Regions from separate parts of the Homo sapiens genome. Here region 2 is linked to region 1. The links are contacts of gene promoters, found by promoter capture Hi-C in blood cells and fetal thymus (Javierre and others, 2016). All regions are on one chromosome and are shown on one strand. The core of a region is centred on a gene start or on the middle of the fragment in contact, and the rest is flanking DNA. Distances in the headings are between cores, read along the strand shown. Region 1 holds the start of KRABD2 (KRAB domain containing 2). Region 2 overlaps PIK3R5 (phosphoinositide-3-kinase regulatory subunit 5).

Region 1 (2,802 bases), core at 83-2,582:
CAATAACTGGCTGTGATGGAGAGGCGGCATCTTCCTTTGGATCAAGCTTGTCCAACCTGTGGCCTGTGGGCTGCACGCAGCCCAGGACGTCGGGACCTACTAACCTATTCATCTTACTTGCCCACTCCTGCACATTTCTAAGCTTTCAATATCTTTTTTCTTTCATTTTTTTTTTTTTTGAGAGGGTAGGGTCTCACTTTGTCACCCAGGCTAGAGTACAGTGGCATGATCACGGCTCCCAGGGTCAAGGCATCCTCCTACCGCAGCCTCCCAAGTAGCTGGGACTACAGGCATGCGTCACCAGACCCAGCTAATTTTTTCTTTTCTTTCTTTTTTTTTTTTTTTTGTAGAGACGGGGTCTCATTATGTTGCCCGAGGCTTCAGTATCTTTTCCAAAGCAACATGAAAGAAATGTGACCGTAAATCAATCAGCTTCTTGGTGTGATCTATGTGACGGCTAGGTGATAAACGAGTTGGTCAGAGAAAACTGGAAATATTTCCAAAGCCATGTTTACTCCCTTCACCCACCTGTGAGTCTTCGCCTTGGCTGTTTCCGACTCGGAATGTCCTCGCATTGATCCTCCCAATCACAGCCAGCTGAAACCAGCCTCCTTCCTGACGTATTCAGTAACTTTAGCTGATTGCCATCTCTCCTTCATCTCAACAACCTGTACCACACTCACTGGAGCACTTCGCTTTGCATCTTTAGTCGACCAGTTCAGATATATACAACCTATAAGGTAGGGACGGAGGCTTCTACCTGCCTGTACCCCCTTTGGAGGGCCCACGAATACAGAGCTGAGCACAAAAGATGTTTAAAGGACATTTTGTCAAAAATGTCGCTTACAGGTAGGTCGTTATTAGCAAGGTAGAGCAGCGGTACGGCCGAGTCTACGCTTGGGAATTCATTTGCTGACTCTTATCATTTACTGACTAAAGCAAAGTTACTGAGGCCTCAGTTTCCTCATCTACAACCCGGGGAGATGACCAGTACCCATCACAATCGATTGCTATGAAGATTCAATGATAATGCAGATAAGGCACTTAATACAGTGTCCCCTCACCGTCCACACCACACGGGCACGCCCGCTTATTCCTGAGGACCGGGCTGGGATGTCGCCTCCTTTGTGTAGCCTTCCTACCCTGACTTCGCAGACTGCTCCCACCGCCTGGATCCATGCCCGTCCACCCGCCAGCTCAGGGCTGAACGGCTGAGGCGGGCGCGCGGTGGAGAAAAGAGCTGCAGACTGAGGAAGGTCAGGAAGGAGAAAGGGACACACCAGACGCGGCGTCTGAATCCCCCTCCACCCAGAGGCCCCCGAGCAGCAACTCCGCCCCACCTCCCGCCCGCTCCGCCGGAAGCCGGTCAGCGCCAGCCGGAAGCCCCGCCCCCTAGAGGCACCGCGGACACCGTGCAGCGCTGTTCACCCAGATGCCAGCTGTGACCTTGGCTAAGCCAGTGACTTAACTCGGGCCCGTTCCCCATTCCCACGTTGTTGCCAAGTCTCCAGCCTGGAAAGTAAACGGGCTTCAGGTGTCCTGTTTAGATGCTTAAAATGAGGAACGGCAGGAGCACACACACTGCTGCCACCTCACACCTTTTCACTTCATCCTGACGAAGCTGCAGTTTAGTTTATATTTTAACTCAAAGACGTGTTAGGTTTTGGTTTGATGGCACTCATCCAGCACTTGTGCAGAAAACAAGGTAAAGGGGGCCCATGGGTCTATCAGATAACCTGAACCCGAGACCTCTCAATCTGGAGGAACAGCTTGAAGAAGTCATCTAGAAGCTATAAAGTCACAGAAGCTTCTTATCCTATTGAAAGCAAGACTTCCTATCCAATGGCAATACAAACTTTTACGCAGTAAGGTAAAAAATATAGCCTGTCCATATAGCAACCTATCCATAGTAAGCAAGTTAAAAGACAGGTTCAAGAGGAAGTGTTTCCAACTAGCTTTTCTTGTAGGCCTTCTTCTTCTCAATGACACCCCTCCAGCTTCTGATATATCCTCAAATGCTGCTGCCCACTATAAAAAAAATCTCATCAGTCCTGATTTCAGAAAAATTTTAGACCAACAAATCAGAGGTAAGAGACTGATCCACTGAAAACTAGGGAGTGTCCTAAATCACCACACACAAAACACAGGCTCTTTGTTTCAAGTTTTAATCAAAGCTTGTATATAAGATTACTTTATTCCTGCATCTTCTCAATGGTTTCTTCCTTGTATTTGCCCTTTTCCTTTCCTACTTGGCGAGATTTGGCTTTCCGTTCGAGGATCTTTTTGCGGTCTTTGTCCAGTTTTAGCCTAGTGATAACCACCTGCAGAAAAATAAGAAAAAAACACTCCCAAGCTTTAAATAATCACTAAAACACAAGGGAAAGCCCAACATTCAATACCATTTCCCAAACCTGGGGTAGGTGGATGCCTAATAAGAAAAGATTTTAACTTTTAAAAAACTCCAGAAATCACTCTTTAGCCATCAAACCTGGCTTATTTACTAATTTCCTACCAACAAAGGAGAAAAGGCAAGATGGTATCAGTAATTCTTAAAGCCTCTTCTGTGCTTCATTATAAGATTTGTTTCTTTTTCACTGAGAAATATATGATTCTGCTCTTCTCACTACAGTTTTACAAGCTGTCATATACAAATATATTTGTTTCCAAAGTAACTTCAGGCTGGGTGCGGTGGTTCATGCCCCCAATCCCAGCACTTTGGGAGGCAGAGGCAGGCGGATCACCTGAGGTCAGGAGTTTGAGACCAGTCTGGCCAACACGGTGAAACCCCTTCTCTACTAAAAA
Region 2 (2,802 bases), core at 226-2,725, 570 kb after region 1:
TGTGCATCAAAAAATGAACCTAGAGCCAAGGTTTAGGACTGGCAGAATCTTTGCCTGGATAGCAGCTTGGTAGCTGATTAGGTTGGAGCCGGGCTCTTAAATGAATCCCTGCTCCTCGGTCATCTCATCTGTTGGAAGGTCAAGTTAGTGATGAGGAAGATTACTGTCCTATCTTCTGCCTTTAATTCTCACCAAGAACAATGAAAGCTTTGTGAAATAGCAGTGAGAGGAAAATGGGGAGAAAAGGACCCATGACTGGGGTTTGTAGTAATCACGGAAGAAAATGCTAGACATAGTCAGACGCGAGTCATAGACTTTATGAAAGCAGCTATCCAAGGGGCTGGGAATTGTTTCCGTGCGTATCTAGTCTATTAAAACAACAACAACAACAAGAGGCTGGAAGTCAGAGAGGGTGGCTTAACAGGGAAAGAAAATGGAAAATTAAGCTCTGAAGGCAAGTCAGAGAGTGTCACAAGGGAGAAAAGAGGCGGAAATGTGAAGGAGCCAGTGTGACTTCCTGGGGCATACGTCAAGATGGAATCAAGGTCCCCAAGTTAAGGTGATACGAAAGAGAGAGAATGAGCGTATCATGAAAGCAAGCCTTAAGAAAAATACAGCAGCTGGGTGCGGTGGCTCATGCCTGTAATCCCAGCACTTTGGGAGGCCGAGGCCGGTGGATCACAAGGTCAGGAGATCCAGACCATCCTGGCTAACACGGTGAAATCCCATCTCTACTAAAAACACAAAAAATTAGCCAGGTGTGGTGGCGGGCGCCTGTAGTCCCAGCTACTTGGGAGGCTGAAGCAAGAGAATGGTGTGAACCCGGGAGGCGGAGCTTGCAGTGAGCAAAGATTGAGCCACTGCACTCCAGCCTGGGCGACAGAGCGAGACTCCGTCTTAAAAAAAAAAAAAAAAAAAAAAAAGAAAAGAAAAGAAAAGAAAAAGAAAAATGCAGCATACATCAAAAAGGACCCGTAAAGCTATTTTCAGAGTCCAAACCAGAAGAAATCAGGCCAGTAACTCAAGACAGTGGCCGACGCATGAGAGAAAGCCGAAATGCGCTCCTATGTTGCCTCCATCTTTTCCTCCACTTATAAGTAGGAGCTAAAGCTTTACCATGATAAGCTTTACCATTGTAAGGAGAATGGTTAACCCACTGGAAAGCATGAATCACAGATGTTTTATTTAGTCAGCAGAAAATATGTATTGAGGGTCTACTATTTGAGGGACTTCACTAGGCACTGGGGGTCCAGAAATCTCACAGAGCTCGTGGCCAGGAGGAGGATTGAGAGGTCACTACACAATGTGAAGGAGCAACAGAAAAATATGAAAAAGACAACCCAGTAGAAAACTGGACAAAAGGCTTGAATAGACGCTTCACAGAAGAGGGTGTCCAAATGGCCACTAAACATGTGGAGAGGTGCTCCGCTTCATTAGTCAGAAGGGAAGTGCACATTCCCACCACAAGGCAATACCACTACACACCCAGCAGAAGGGCCAAAATGAAAAAGGCAAAAAAAAGCACTGTTGTGAGGATGTGAAGCCACGCAAACCCTCACGGCTGCTGCGGGGAATGTACGCTGGTACGACAACATACCCAGTGGAAGATGCTCTATCAGACCCTAAAGCTCAACTTCAGCATGCTCCAGGCCCCAGGTATATGCCTCCTAGCTACATGCCCAGTGGACATGCAACAGGAAGTTCAGAGAAGCACCATCCAAAATAACTCTCAAACTAGAAACTACCCAGTGGGTTAGGTGTCCCAGTGGAGGCTAATATGGGACAGGTGCCATAGGAACTTGGAGGAGGGAGAATGTCTATTAGCAAAGCTTCTCCAAAAAGGTGACTCCCGAGATAACATTTCAGGAAGGAGGAGCTGCCCTGGGTGAGATTCAGGCATGAATCTCATGGTAGGAAAATAAACTGAGGCAAGAGGCGGGAGACAGCATGGTTCCTTTAGGGAAATGCTGGCAGTTCAGCCCTACTGAAGGGTAGGCATGACATGGGGCACGCTGGGAGATGATGCTGCATGGGCTGGCATGGTAGACTGTGAACAGCCTTATCTGCCAAGCTAAGTGCTTAAGGGTTTACTCAAGCGCCATGTGGAGCCACTGCTAAATTTCGAGCTGGTGAATGACACATCAGCTTTTGGATTTGGAAGGTTGTACCAGCCACAGGGTGAAAGGTAGATTGCGGGGAAAGGGTCCGATATTGAAACATCTGATGCCAAATAGGGAGGCTTGCTGCTGAAAATGAGTTTAGGATTGCAGAAGAGAATAAAGGCATCTCAGAGTCATAAAGAAACTTGAGGTTGTGAAAGGGAGCTGCTACCGATTATCTTTGAAGAATCAGAGAAAATGAAAGATGTATAAGAGACAGAGACAGAGAAAGACAGAGACAGATTAGAAAATGTTGTCGTCATCGTGAGGAACAGAAAAAGAAAGGGAGAATTCTGTAATGGCATTTGCAGCAACCTGAATAGGATTGGACACTATTATTCTAAGTGAAGTAACTCAGGAATGGAAAACCGAACATCATATGTTCTGACTCATAAGTGGGAGCTAAGCTATACGGATGCAAAGGCATAAGAATGATACAATGGATTTTGGGGACTTAGCAGGGGAAAGGTGGGAAGTGGGTGAGGGATAAAAGGCTACACATTAGGTACAACGTACACTGCACCAAAATCTCACAAGTCACCTCTAAAGAACTTACTCACGTAACCAAATACTACCTGTTCCCCAAAAATCTATGAAAATAAAAATTTAAAAACAATTTTTTTAAGTGGAATTTTTTAAAGTA

What was found. Contacts are between HindIII fragments. The CHiCAGO score rates a contact against its expected background, and 5 or more counts as called.
Region 2: a contact is called between a fragment that was not itself captured here and the fragment with the promoter of KRABD2 in region 1, in 2 of 17 cell types (naive CD8 T cells and total CD4 T cells). The highest score is 5.6, in naive CD8 T cells.

What each region holds. Positions count from the first base shown.
Region 1 is chr17:8,375,372-8,378,173 of GRCh38, forward strand. KRABD2 (KRAB domain containing 2) reads right to left here and starts at 1,333. Exons shown (of 2, transcript NM_001304947.3): 1 at 529-1,333. It overlaps RPL26 (ribosomal protein L26), which reads right to left. Exons shown (of 4, transcript NM_000987.5): 4 at 2,145-2,321. The coding sequence ends at 2,193. RefSeq lists an enhancer at 972-1,523 and a silencer at 1,268-1,467. The HindIII fragment of the contact is 1,665 bases long and covers 141-1,805 here.
Region 2 is chr17:8,947,144-8,949,945 of GRCh38, forward strand. All of the region lies in intron 1 of PIK3R5 (phosphoinositide-3-kinase regulatory subunit 5), which reads right to left. Among named protein-coding and RNA genes, the nearest start is that of PIK3R5, 17 kb to the right of the region's middle. The HindIII fragment of the contact is 704 bases long and covers 1,124-1,827 here.